3 separate regions of the Homo sapiens genome follow, and regions 1 and 3 are each linked to region 2. Evidence: promoter capture Hi-C in human tissues and cell types (Jung and others, 2019). All regions are on one chromosome and are shown on one strand. Each heading gives the region's core, a stretch centred on a gene start or on the middle of the fragment in contact. The rest is flanking DNA. Distances are from core to core; before and after follow the strand shown. Region 1 has its middle 13 kb from the start of ZNF132. Region 2 holds the start of TRIM28 (tripartite motif containing 28). Region 3 holds the start of ZNF324B (zinc finger protein 324B).

Region 1 (4,435 bases), core at 1,641-4,140, 120 kb before region 2:
ATGTTAAACATAAAAGCCGGGTATGGTGGAGTGCACCTGTAGTCCCAGCTACATTGGGCAGGAGGATCTTTTGAGCCCAAGAGTCCAAGTCCAGCCTGGGCAACATAGCCAGACCCTGTCTCAAAATAAAAACAAAAACAAAACAAAACAATTAAACATACACCTACCATATACCCCCAAAATTCCACTTCTAAGTATCTACCCAAGAGAATTCAAAGGATATATTAACACAAGGACTTGTACACAAATGTTTATAGCAGCTTCATTTGAGATAGTCAAAAGTTAGAAACAATTTGGCCAGGCACTGTGGCTCATGGCTGTAATCCCACCACTTTGGGAGGCCGAGGCGGGTGGATCATGAGGTCAGGAGTTTGAAACCAGCATTGCCAACGTAATGAAACCTGTCTCTACTAAAAATACAAAAAAAATCAGCCAGGCGTGGCGGTGCACACCTGTAGTCCCAGCTACTCAGGAGGCTGAGGCAGGGGAATTGCTTGAACCCAGGAGGTGGAGCTTGCCGTGAGCCGAAATTGCGCCACTGCACTCCAGCCTGGGCGACAGAGCCAGACTCCATCTCAAAAAAAAAAAAAAGATGGGGTCTTGCTCTATTGCCCAGGCTGGTCTTAAACTCCCCGGCTCAAGTGATCCTCCTGCCTTGGCCTACCAAAGTGCTGGGATTACAGGCGTGAGCCATCACGCCCGACTGAACCTCTTTTCCTTATAAACTATCTAGACTTAGATTTTTCCTTCCTTCCTTCCTTCCTGTCTTCCTTCTTCCTTCCTTCCTTCTTTCCTTTTTTTTTTTTTTTTAGACAGAATTCTGCTCTTGTGGCCCAGGCTGGAGTGCAATGCCGTGATCTTGGCTCATTGCAACCTCTGCCTGCCGGGTTCAAGCAACTCTCCTACCTCAGCCTCCCGAGTAACTGGGATTACAGCCGCCACCACCACGCCTGGCTAATTTTTTGTATTTTTAATAGAAACGCCGTTTCACCATGTTGGCCAGGCTGGTCTCAAACTCCCAACCTCAGGTGATCTGCCTGCCTGGGCCTCCCAAAGTGCTGGGATTACAGGCATGAGCCACCATGCCCAGCCTGAGATATTTCTTTATAGTAACACAAAAACAGCCTAACAAAAAGGTCACATAGTAGGTAGGATTTAGTAAGAAAGAGAGCTGAGATTTCAAGGCAGGTGAACTGGGTCTAATGTTTCCACTGCTTTACTCACCTCTCCCTACCTCTAGATTTCCACCCTCCCATGTTGAAATCTCTTGGTTATAAATTTTCACTTGTGCTTCTTTCTTAGATCACCTTCTTGAATCACAGTGGTGTCTATTTTCATATCCATTGAGGGTATAGTGATTCCTTGAGGGTTACAAGGTCTGCAGATCGATGAGTTCTTGGCATTTTGGAGAGGCCAGAGACTGGTAGCTCTGAGTCATTAGTTGTCAGGCCATGCCTCCCCATCAAACAATCGAAGCTTGGCTGACTTCTCTGAGTGCCAGAAGAAGGCTGGGGCTGGGGGTAGAGGATCTGGGTTTCACAAGAGGCGAGTCTGGAAATGTCAAAATTGGGGTCCAAGGTGAGAGGATGGCGTGGTAGGACAACATTGTCTGCCATCCGTGTATAATGGCTGAAGCTCTGGTTAGTGGGTGTGGCCTAAGGAGAATGTAGTGATTCCCACTGTCGGTGTAAAGGGCTTCATATTGATGGAGAGTTTTCTGTGTTGTCAGAAGTTCTGGTGGACACTGTGAGACAGATTTCATGGATTTATAGATGAGACAGCTGAAGCTTGGGAGTCTGTGCCCCAGATCGCACAATTTATTAGCAGTAGGAGTCCAAGTTGAGCCAAGCCAGAGAAGGTTACTGAGTGTTTTGGCACCCTTGGCCTTAATCTGCTGCTCTTCAGATTTCACAGCCCCCATGTTCCAGATAGTTCACTCAAAGCTTGGGAGTTGGAGATGAGGGAATCAACAGATGCTGACACTAGCATGAAGGAGAGGTATAGCTGATCTGGAGGTATGATTGGGAGAGGTTGAGAAGCCTTTCAAGGGTGTCCCTGATGTGGGAGGGCACAAGCAAAGGCCCAGGGGCAAGGAACTGCCCAGTAGATTCCAGAAGAGAACTACCATTGCATACAGCAGAGTGTACAATAACAGGGTAGTCAGTACACTGCATCAAGGGGCTGAAGGCAACTGCCTTTTGGTTTGAGCATAGTCTGAAAGCAGTGGAGCCACTGAATCCCACAAAAGCTGGTAACCTGGACAGCTCAAAAGTCACAGCCATCAGGACTTTGCCTGGAATATTCTGGCATTATTGGCAAACATCTATCTTCCCCTAACAGGTTGGCTGCTGTATACTGAGACCCAGTCGGAGATCAGAAGGCAGGTTCAGTAGAAACACGTAGGACTCTACTCATGTATTAGGAATCTTTTTTTTTTCCTTTTTTATTTTTATTTTTTATTATTTTTTTGAGACGGAGTTTCACTCTTGTTGCCCAGGCTGGAGTGCAATGGCGTGATCTCAGCTCACTGCAACCTCTGCCTCCCAGGCTCAAGCAATTCTCCTGCCTCCTGAGTAGCTGGGATTACACGCATGCGCCACCATGCCTGGCTTTTTTCTTTCTTTCTTTCTTTCTTTCTTTCTTTCTTTCTTTCTTTCTTTCTTTCTCTTTCCTTTCTTTCTTTCTTTCTTTCTTTCTTTCTTTCTTTCTTTCTTTCTTTCTTTCTTTCCTTCCTTCCTTCCTTCCTTCCTTCCTTCCTTCCTTCCTTTCCTTTCCCTTCCTTCCTTCCTTCCTTCCTTCCTTCCTTCCTTCCTTCCTTTCTTTCTTTTTCTTTCTTTCTTTCTTTCTTTCTTTTCTTGTAGAGATGGGATTTCTCCATGTTGGTCAGGCTGGTCTCAAAGTCCCAACCTCAGGTGATCCGCCCGCATTGGCCTCCCAAAGTGCTGGGATTACATGCGTGAGCTACCGCGCCCAGCCTTTTTTTTTTCCTGTTTTAGAGACAAGGTCTCATTATGTTGCCCAGGCTGGAGTGCAGTGGTGCAAACATAGCTCACTGCAGTCTTGAACTCCTGGGATCCAGTGATCCTCCTGCCTCAAGTAGCTGGAAACAGGCATGCCACAATCATGCCCAGCACCATCTTATGAGATCTAATCTTGGCCACTCACACAGAGGATTGAGCTCTGATGACGTGTCTACCCTAACTTTATTTGCTTAGAAGGCTGAGCCCCATATGGCTCAGCTAACCTTTAATTCTGATCCCACATGTGTCTTACATATTGGAGACATTAGCATCTTCCATATTGGAGACATTACACTCAGGAAGGAAGGCCTGAGTAGGGTAGGTATCCCCCAGACACCTCACTGTGCTGGGGAGTATTTGAGAAGCCCTGCTGTAAACTTTGCTGACGGCAAAACTGTTGTGGCTTCTGCTCACAATGTGGTTATCATTGTCCATCCCCTCAGGGGCTTCCAGGAGACGTGGCAGCTGCAGTGGCCTCTGATCCATCATACAGTATGGATGGACACCACAGGCCAAAGATTCTCATGTCAGAGGATTTCCGGTCTTTTCTCCCCTAGGCCTCAGGAGGACCCAGGGAAATATCTAAAGCCAACCTATAGTTTTGGTGAACTGAGTTTGCATTGAAATGTTTTTGGAAATGATTTTCAACATTTATAAAATCACATGCCACATAGAAATCTGAATATTTGGCTCTTCTTGGAAAACCAGGAGATATGGGAAATCTGTACTGACTCCACCATATTGTCTCCCCACCCCTTAAGAGGGACAGACCTGCTTGGTGGCCACCAGAAGTGGAATTATGAAGGCCACGGCCATATGATTCTCAAGAAACCCTGGCTACTCACATAAGCCACTCCAGACCATGATTTCTGTCTTCTCTGTCTTGAGGTGCCTACCTGTGCAGTGATGGCCATGAGATGAACAGCCCAGGGAGTCCACAGGAAATCCACAAAATATTTATTTGAATTTCAGTTATGAGTGACACATAGGTCTGCATGTCCTGAGAAGTTCTGTACACCCTTATCTCACTTGGCCATAGTCATTGGAAGTTTCTGATGTGCGTTTAGAACAGACATGTCCCCTCTTGTCTACCACAGTCTTCTCCACACTTAGAGTTTTTGTACCAATGATAGTTCCCACATAGCCCTGGCAGGTCTGAACCAGTTATGCCTGCCTACTGAGTTTTATATTTCATGAGTCATGAGCCATGGGCAGGTACTGGGGGATGTAGCTGGTAAAGTGGGACATGCATTGGGAACAGAGGACCAAACTTTTGCTGTGGAGGTTCTCAAAGAAACTACCCCATTCTTCAGAGCTAGCTCTGGGCCCACAGGTGACCCTTGGTGTCCAGATCACAAGATTCAGTCCAAGCCTGTCAGTCTTTCATAGGAGGCCTTAGGGCAACAAGACAAATT
Region 2 (4,670 bases), core at 1,693-4,192:
GCTTCCCTCCTCAGACAGGATTCTCCCCCCACACACCCTGCTTCCCTCCTCAGACAGGAAGCTCCCCCCACACACCCTGCTTCCCTCCTCATACAGGATTCTCCCCACACACACCCTGCTTCCCTCCTCAGACAGGATTCTCCCCACACAGACCCTGCTTCCCTCCTCAGACAGGATTCTCCCCCCACACCCTGCTTCCCTCCTCAGACAGGATTCTCCCCCCACACACCCTGCTTCCCTCCTCAGACAGGATTCTCCCCACACACACCCTGCTTCCCTCCTCAGACAGGGCTCCCCCCACACACCCTGCTTCCCTCCTCAGACAGGATTCTCCCCCCACACACCCTGCTTCCCTCCTCAGACAGGATTCTCTCCACACACACCCTGCTTCCCTCCTCAGACAGGATTCTCCCCACACACACCCTGCTTCCCTCCTCAGACAGGATTCTCCCCACAGAGACCCTGCTTCCCTCCTCAGACAGGATTCTCCTCACACACACCCTGCTTCCCTCCTCAGACAGGATTCTCCCCACACACACCCTGCTTCCCTCCTCAGACAGGATTCTCCCCACACACACCCTGCTTCCCTCCTCAGACAGGATTCTCCCCACACACACCCCGCTTCCCTCAGACAGGATTCTCCCCACACAGACCCTGCTTCCCTCCTCAGACAGGATTTTCCCCACACACACCCTGCTTCCCTCCTCAGACAGGATTCTCCCCACACAGACCCTGCTTCCCTCCTCAGACAGGGCTCCCCTCCCCACACAGACCCTCTTTCCCTCAGACAGGATTTTCCCCACACAAACCCTACTTTCCTCCTCAGACAGGATTCTCCCCACACAGACCCTGCTTCCCTCAGACAGGATTCTCCCCACACAGACCCTGCTTCCCTCCTCAGGCAGGATTCTCCCCACACAGACCCTGCTTCCCTCCTCAGACAGGATTCTCCCCACACAGACCCTGCTTCCCTCCTCAGACAGGATTCTCCCCACACAGACCCTGCTTCCCTCCTCAGACAGGATTCTCACCCCACACACCCTGCTTCCCTCCTCAGACAGGATTCTCCCCACACACACCCTGCTTCCCTCCTCAGACAGGATTCTCCCCACACAGACCCTGCTTCCCTCCTCAGACAGGGATTCCCCTCCCCACACAGACCCTCTTTCCCTCAGACAGGATTTTCCCCCCACACACCCTGCTTCCCTCCTCAGACAGGATTCTCCCCACATACACCCTGCTTCCCTCCTCAGACAGGATTCTCCCCACACACACCCTGCTTCCCTCCTCAGACAGGATTCTCCCCACACAGACCCTGCTTCCCTCCTCAGACAGGGCTCCCCTCCCCACACAGACCCTCTTTCCCTCAGACAGGATTTTCCCCACACACACCCTACTTTCCTCCTCAGACAGGATTCTCCCCACACAGACCCTGCTTCCCTCAGACAGGATTCTCCCCACTCAGACCCTGCTTCCCTCCTCAGGCAGGATTCTCCCCACACAGAACCTGCTTCCCTCCTCAGACAGGATTCTCCCCACACACACCCTGCTTCCCTCCTCAGACAGGATTCTCCCCACACACACCCTGCTTCCCTCCTCAGACAGGATTCTCCCCACACAGACGCTGCTTCCCTCCTCAGACAGGATTCTCCCCACACAGACCCTGCTTCCCTCCTCAGACAGGGTTCCCCTCCGCACACACACCCTCTTTCCCTCAGACAGGATTTTCCCCACACAAACCCTACTTTCCACCTCAGACAGGATTCTCCCCACATGGACCTGCTTCCTTCCCTCCTTGGGATTCCCCACTGTTGAGGTTCAGTTTCCCCATCTGGAAAAGCATCAAAGTCAGGGTAGCTGCTGACGAAAACATGGGGAGGGGATGCCTTGGGGGGCTGGGTGGGATTTCACAGACTCATTGCTCTTTAGCCTCTTGTGATTTATATATATGTGTATATATATATATATATTTTTTTTCTTGATGGGGGGTTGGGGGGCCCGGCGTGGTGGCTCACACCTGTAATTCCAGCACTTTGGGAGGCCAAAGTGGGTCTATCATCTGACGTCGGGAGTTCGAGACCAGCCTGGCCAACGTGGTGAAACCCCGTCTCTATTAAAAATACAAAAATTAGCCAGGCGTGATGGCAGGCCCCTGTAATCCCAGCTACTCGGGAGGCTGAGGCAGAAGAATCGCTTGAACCCGGGAGGCGGAGGTTGCAGCGAGCCGAGATCGTGCCACTGCACTCCAGCCTGGGCAACAGAGCAAAACTCCGTCTCAAAACAAACACAAAAACCTTTCTCTCCTCTTTTGAGATGGAGTTTCACTCTTTTCTCCCAGGCTGTAGTGCAATGGCACGATCTCGGCTCACTGCAACCTCCGCCTCCCGGGTTCAAGCGATTCTCCTGCCTCAGCCTCCCGAGTAGCTGGGATTACAGGCGCCTGCCACCACGCCCGGCTACTTTTTGTACTTTTAGTAGAGACGGGGTTTCACCACGTTGGCCAGGCTGCTCTCGAACTCCTGACTTAAGATCCAACCGCCTCGACCTCCCAAAGTGCTGGAATTACAGGCGTGAGCCGCCGCGCCCGGCCACATTTTTCTCCATCTGTGGTCTAGGCTGGCGTGCAGTGGCACAATCCCGCCTCACTGCTGCCTCGGCCTCCTGGGCTAAACGGAGCTTCCCGACTCGCCTAAGAAAGTGGTGGGATTACAGGTATGAGCCACGGCGCCCGGCTGTGATCTACATTTGATTCAGTCAAGTTTCTGTGTTTCTCAAGTTTAACTATAGCGTGGTTAAAATCCAAAAGTCAGCACCCGAGCTCACACAGGAGCTTCCTCCCTCTTGGGATGGAGACTCTCCTCCCCTCTCCCTGGACACAGCCCTTCACTCGGTCTTGGCCCCGCCTACTTCTCCATCGGCCCTGCCCCCTATCCCGAACTCTTAGTGACGCAGAGGCTGGAGACGACTCTACGGCGGCGAAGAGACGCGGGTTGAGGAAGAGGGACGGATTGCCCATGCGCTTGGGCGCACAGCGGCCCGCTTCTGTGTGGTCTGGAGGTGGAGCTGAGAGGGGAATCACACTCTATAAAGGTTCGCATACCCCACTGGCGGATTCAATTGCGGCAGTGACGTCACAGAGGCCCCGCCCCGCCCCCACAAGAGCCCCACCGACGTGGGGTTGGCGGTGGTGGAAGGACTAGGAGTTGGCGCGTGCGTACTGGCGGCCTCTCCCGCACCGACCGGCCTGGGCCCCGCCCCCGGGCGTGAGGCGCCCAATGCGCGTGCGCGGCGGCGTCGGCGCCAGTTATTTCTGTCCCGCCCCCCGGCCTCGGCTCTTTCTGCGAGCGGGCGCGCGGGCGAGCGGTTGTGCTTGTGCTTGTGGCGCGTGGTGCGGGTTTCGGCGGCGGCTGAGGAAGAAGCGCGGGCGGCGCCTTCGGGAGGCGAGCAGGCAGCAGTTGGCCGTGCCGTAGCAGCGTCCCGCGCGCGGCGGGCAGCGGCCCAGGAGGCGCGTGGCGGCGCTCGGCCTCGCGGCGGCGGCGGCGGCAGCGGCCCAGCAGTTGGCGGCGAGCGCGTCTGCGCCTGCGCGGCGGGCCCCGCGCCCCTCCTCCCCCCCTGGGCGCCCCCGGCGGCGTGTGAATGGCGGCCTCCGCGGCGGCAGCCTCGGCAGCAGCGGCCTCGGCCGCCTCTGGCAGCCCGGGCCCGGGCGAGGGCTCCGCTGGCGGCGAAAAGCGCTCCACCGCCCCTTCGGCCGCAGCCTCGGCCTCTGCCTCAGCCGCGGCGTCGTCGCCCGCGGGGGGCGGCGCCGAGGCGCTGGAGCTGCTGGAGCACTGCGGCGTGTGCAGAGAGCGCCTGCGACCCGAGAGGGAGCCCCGCCTGCTGCCCTGTTTGCACTCGGCCTGTAGTGCCTGCTTAGGGCCCGCGGCCCCCGCCGCCGCCAACAGCTCGGGGGACGGCGGGGCGGCGGGCGACGGCACCGGTAAGTACGAAGTGATCGGTGCCACCCCTCCCCCTACTCTCTGCCTTTGATTCCGACTGGGTGCAGAGATGAGGATGCCACCTGGGCGAGAGGATGGGGGCCCGGACAGGGCACGGGAAATACTTTCTGGGTCCTGCATACGAACGTGGGTTTGTGCTGGCCGCTGAGATGGGACATCTGACTAAAGTTGGAGAAAAGAAGGCTCGGGGAGGGGAGGGGCTGGTTCGCTGCGGGATAATGGTCGGGGGCCCACCCAGCAGGGGAATGGTGGGGGCCATAACCTGGGTGGGAACTTGTAACAGTCTCCCACATCCCTGCTTCTCGAAGTGGTGGACTGTCCCGTGTGCAAGCAACAGTGCTTCTCCAAAGACATCGTGGAGAATTATTTCATGCGTGATAGTGGCAGCAAGGCTGCCACCGACGCCCAGGATGCGAACCAGGTGCGTCCTATCTCAGCAACCACAAGGAGGTTTCTGGGGAGGGGGCATCTGCGCAGGAGGAGCTTGGCACCAGCTCCAGGCTGTTACTCCACTTTCCCAAGGCTCTGGGTGGGCTGCCTAGGTTGGGTCAAGGGACCAATCTTAAATCTCCGGTTGTATTTTCTGGGATGTAAACGTGGATCTATCAAGTTGTCTTGCCTTCTCTGACCCTGCCTTTGTCTGGCAGTGCTGCACTAGCTGTGAGGATAATGCCC
Region 3 (4,283 bases), core at 1,586-4,085, 92 kb before region 2:
TCAAGAGGTGACTTTGATATTATTAAAAGCATTCAGTTTTAAAAGGGAAATACAGCATAAAAGTTCAGAAAATTTGCAGCCTGACCATGCAACAGAAAAGAAAAACACATTTTCTGTGGAGAAATTCAAGAAATTTGCATAAGTAACCAGGAGTCAAATGTTAATCGCCCGGACAATGGGGAAAATATCTCCAGGACATGTCAGAGACCTTTGTGGCAGCCCTTCCCATCACAGGCCCAGAGGCCTAGGAGGAAAAAATGGTTTCGTGGGCTCCCCCTGCTGTGTGCAGCCTACAGACTTGGTGCCCTGCATCCCAGCTGCTTGAACTATGGCTAAAAGGAGCCAAGGTACAGCTTAGGCTGTGGCTTCAGAGGGTGCAAGCCTCAAGCCTTGGCAGCTCCCATGTGGTGTTGAGCCTGTGGGTGCACAGAACTCAAGAACTGAGGTTTGGGAACCTCCACCTAGATTTCAGAAGATGTATGGAAATGCCCAGATTTGGAGCAGGCAAAAGTTTGCTGCAGGGGCAGGGCCCTCATGGAGAACCTCTGGTAGGGCAGTGCTGAAGGGAAATGTGGGGTTGAAGACCCCACACTGAGTCCCCACTGGGGTACTGCCTAGTGGAGCTGTGAGAAGGGGGCCACCATCCTCCAGACTCCAGAATGGTAGATACAACCAACAGCTTGGACCACGCACCCGGAAAAGTCACAGACACTCAACACCAGCCCATGAAAGCAGCTGGGAGGGAGGCTGTACCCTGCAAAGCCACAGAGCTGCAGCTGCCCAAGACCATGGGAACCCACTGCTTGTATCAGTGTGACCTGGATGTGAGACATGGAGTCAGAGGAGATTATTTTGGAACTTTAAGATTCGACTGTCCTGCTGCATTTCAGACTTTCGTGGGGCCTTTAGCCCCTTTCTTTTGGCCAATTTCTCCCATTTGGAATGGGTGTATTTATCCAACGGCTGTACCCCAATTGTATCTAGGAAGTGACTAACTTGCTTTTGATTTTACAGGCTCATAGGAAGAAGGGAATTGCCTTGTCTCAGATGAGATTTTGGACTGTGGACTTTTGAGCTAATGCTGAAATAAGTAGACTTTGGGGGACTGTTGGGAAGGCACGATTGGTTCTGAAATGTGAGCACGAGATTTGGGAGGGGCGAGGAACAGAATGATATGGTTTGGCTGTGTCCCCAACCAAATCTCATTTTGAATTGTAGCTTTCATAATTCCCACATGTTGTGGAAGGGGCCCCAGTTAGAGGTAACTGAGTCATGGGGACAGTTTCCCCCATACTATTCTTGTGGTAGTGAGTAAGTCTCACGAGATCTGATGGTTTCATAAGGGGTTTCCTCTTTTGCTTGACTCTCATTTGCTCTTGCCTGCTGCCATGTAAGACGTGCCTTTCACCTTCTGTCATGATTGTGAGGCCTCTCCAGCCACGTGGAACTATGAGTCCACTAAACCTCTTTTTCTTTATAAATTACCCAGTCTCAGATATGTCTTTATCAGCAACGTGAAAACAGACTAATACACCAGGCATCGTGGCTCCTGCCTGTAGTTCCAGCTACTTGGGAGGCTGAAGTTGGAGGACTGTTTGAGCATGGGAGGCGGAGGTTGCAGTGACCCGAGTATGCACCACTGCACTCCATCCTGGGTAAGAGAGTGAGACCCTGTCTCAAAAAAAAAAAAAAAAAAGTAAAAAAAAATTGCTTGAAATGTTAATAATGCCTCTAAGCATTTGATTAAATCACAATAGTACTTAAGTGTTCTTAAATTCTTTCAAAGCAGGAAAAATTTAAATAAAAACATTCAAAAATTGTCGAGCTATCTTACACTATAGGGATCTACAAGTAGAATCAATTCTGTGGACAGTTATAGCTGACAGTAGACAGATATTTATAGATGGAGGTGGGTATAGAGGAAGACAAAATGAATTAACGTACTTGACATCTGAGAACTGTCTAAGGATCCTAAAAACAAGACCCTCACAGGGAAGCAACAAAGAGAGAATCGTTTATTCTCTGCCAACAACATGGTCAGTCTACATTGAGACTGCCCTGCCTTTTGTTGTTATGTGTCAAAGACACTTAGATTGGTCCAGAGAAAAAAGGAACAAAGCATCCATGTTGTGATGTGTGGGGCAAAGCAAGAACTAGATGGTCTAAGGACAAGCAAGGCTGGGGAATTACCTTCTGCTCGTCCAAGTTACAAGGAAAACAAGTTTTGGGCGAGCGTCCAAGAACAATCACAGAATCAAGACAAATGACAAGCGGGTAGTGTCATTACAGGCTGAGAATTCTTGGTGTAGAGGTTGAAAAACGGACCTTAAACCTTTACGGGACACTGACACACAGAGAGATCAAACCCTCGCCCAGGATGCACAGTCAGTGAGATGCAAAGCTGGGAAGGGAACCCGGAGCTCCAGGCATCTGCTCCTCCACCTACACCTGCCCTACCCGGTGCGTTTTCTCCTCCCTGCTACCTGCTGGTGTTGCCTTCTGGAACCTCCGCAGTTTCTGCTTTCACACCTGCAGGGTTTAGTCTCCAGGGCTGCTTAGGTGGGTGCCAGGAACTGGGAATCCCCAACGCGGGACAACCTGCCGGGCGACTCAACCAGTGCCACGGAGCCCTTGGAAACCCGCGGCAGCTGCGCTACTCCATTTCCAGGCGCCCAGCGCGGCGGCGCTTAGCCGTTGCCATGGAGACTGGTAATGGCCCCGCCTCCGCGCCGAAAAACAGGCAGGAACCACATAACCCAGAAGGCTGTGCGCAAGCGTCTGCGCGCGTATTGGGGCAATGTGAGCTCTGGGGGCTGGACTTCCGGCGTTGGGACTGTCACTTGGCTGCTCGCGTCAGGCCACACCGGTGGTCTGGGCTGTGGCGCGCGGGTCGGGGCCCGAGGCGGGCGGCCAGGAAGGTACGGACCACGAGCAGCCGGCCGCGCCCCCAAGCCTCGGTATCTTCGAGTATGACGTGGTCGGCCCGGGGGCGGTCGGGCCCCGGCGGGAACCACGCGTTCTCCCGCCCCGCGGAAGCCCAGGAGGCAGCGCATTGGGCATTCTGCGCCCATGACTGCCGGGCAGGCTGAGGCGCGGGGCAGCCGCGGGAGGCTGCTGGCGGGGATGGCGGTCCCGGGTGGTCCATGCCTTTCTTCCCTCCCAGTTGCGGGTTCCGCTGGCGGCGGTGGCGCTGACAAGCCCGCGCCGGGGGGGCGGGGGAGTCCCTGCTCACACAGACTGCGCCCCCACGGAGTGAGGCCGCTTCCTAGACCTCGCCTAGTCGTCTTTCCTCTCCCTGCCCTGGGGGGGTTGCGGGGGTCAGTGCAAACTCCTGCGTCCAGGGCACTGGTGAGCTCCCGACTTCCGGCAGCCAGGGGGCTGAGGTCCCGAAGGAGGCTCCGAGGGGAGAGTCCTGCGTGTGCAAAACCTGGGAGGGGAGCCGAAGCCCAGATGCTTCTGGGACTGAGCGCTCTCGATGTGGAGCTGGAGTAGAGGGGATGTGTGCGGCTGCAGTAGCAGGCGAGGGAGTGGGCTTTATCTCGAGGGCGTCGGGAGACATAGAAGTTTTGAACAGAATCAGGACATCCTCTGAGTTGGGACTTTAAAACGGTTCCACCGTTTGTTGCGTGGAGAACAGACATGCAGGGGTGTCGGCATGAAGGGAAGAACCGACTGCCACAGTCTGGGCAGCAGTGGAGGTGGGCGACCAGGTGAATTCTGGTGGATCTGCGGATGCATCAGGTGTGGGCTGTTTGAAGAACTAAGTACCCCATGTTGTTCAGCCTGAGCGCCTGGAAGAAGAGAGCTGCTGTAGATAGAAAGGAGAATTGAAAGGAAAGCAGGTTTCCTTCAGGGGAAAGATCAAGAGTCTGGGATGTCCCAGGTTGGTCATGTCACTGGACCTGACGTTGTTGGTGTCCTGGGCTGAGGACAGGGCCTATAAACTGGACTGAAGAAGGCGATGAGCAGTCAGGCGTGCGGAGTTACAGCTTGAGGGTAAAGAAAACCGGCTGGGGTGCCTGAGGCTATCAGGGGAGGAGTTCGGCAGGTGGCTGAATAGGAGAGGGTGGCAGCAATGTGGGAAAGAAATTGCGGGAGCGCTGAGATCGAGACCATCCTGGCTCACACAGTGAAACCCGGTCTCTACTAAAAATCCAAAAAAATTAGCCAGGTGTGGTGGCGGGAGGCTGAGGCAGGAGAATGGCGTGAACCCGGGAGCCGGAGCTTGCAGTGAGCCGAGATTGCCCCACTGCACTCCAGCCTGGGTGACGGAGTGAGACTCC

What was found. The method cuts DNA at HindIII sites, captures the fragments that hold promoters and counts their contacts. A contact is called where the count stands out against the background at its distance.
Region 1: a contact is called between a fragment that was not itself captured here and the fragment with the promoter of TRIM28 in region 2, in 4 of the 25 tissues and cell types used here (H1 embryonic stem cells, heart left ventricle, ovary and 1 more).
Region 3: the fragment with the promoter of ZNF324B here is called in contact with the fragment with the promoter of TRIM28 in region 2 in 1 of the 25 tissues and cell types used here (dorsolateral prefrontal cortex).

What each region holds. Positions count from the first base shown.
Region 1 is chr19:58,424,679-58,429,113 of GRCh38, forward strand. It overlaps a transcript of ZNF324B not described here. Among named protein-coding and RNA genes, the nearest start is that of ZNF132, 13 kb to the right of the region's middle. The HindIII fragment of the contact is 6,648 bases long and covers 1-4,435 here.
Region 2 is chr19:58,541,122-58,545,791 of GRCh38, forward strand. TRIM28 (tripartite motif containing 28) reads left to right here and starts at 2,943. Exons shown (of 17, transcript NM_005762.3): 1 at 2,943-3,976; 2 at 4,304-4,416; 3 at 4,643-4,670. The coding sequence starts at 3,637. It also overlaps the pseudogene RN7SL525P. RefSeq lists enhancers at 2,118-2,622, 2,774-3,083 and silencers at 3,204-3,413, 3,494-3,653, 3,674-3,963. The HindIII fragment of the contact is 31,195 bases long and covers 1-4,670 here.
Region 3 is chr19:58,448,787-58,453,069 of GRCh38, forward strand. It overlaps ZNF324B (zinc finger protein 324B), which reads left to right and starts at 2,836. Exons shown (of 4, transcript NM_207395.3): 1 at 2,836-2,918. RefSeq lists silencers at 2,542-2,868, 2,846-3,275. The HindIII fragment of the contact is 12,073 bases long and covers 1-4,283 here.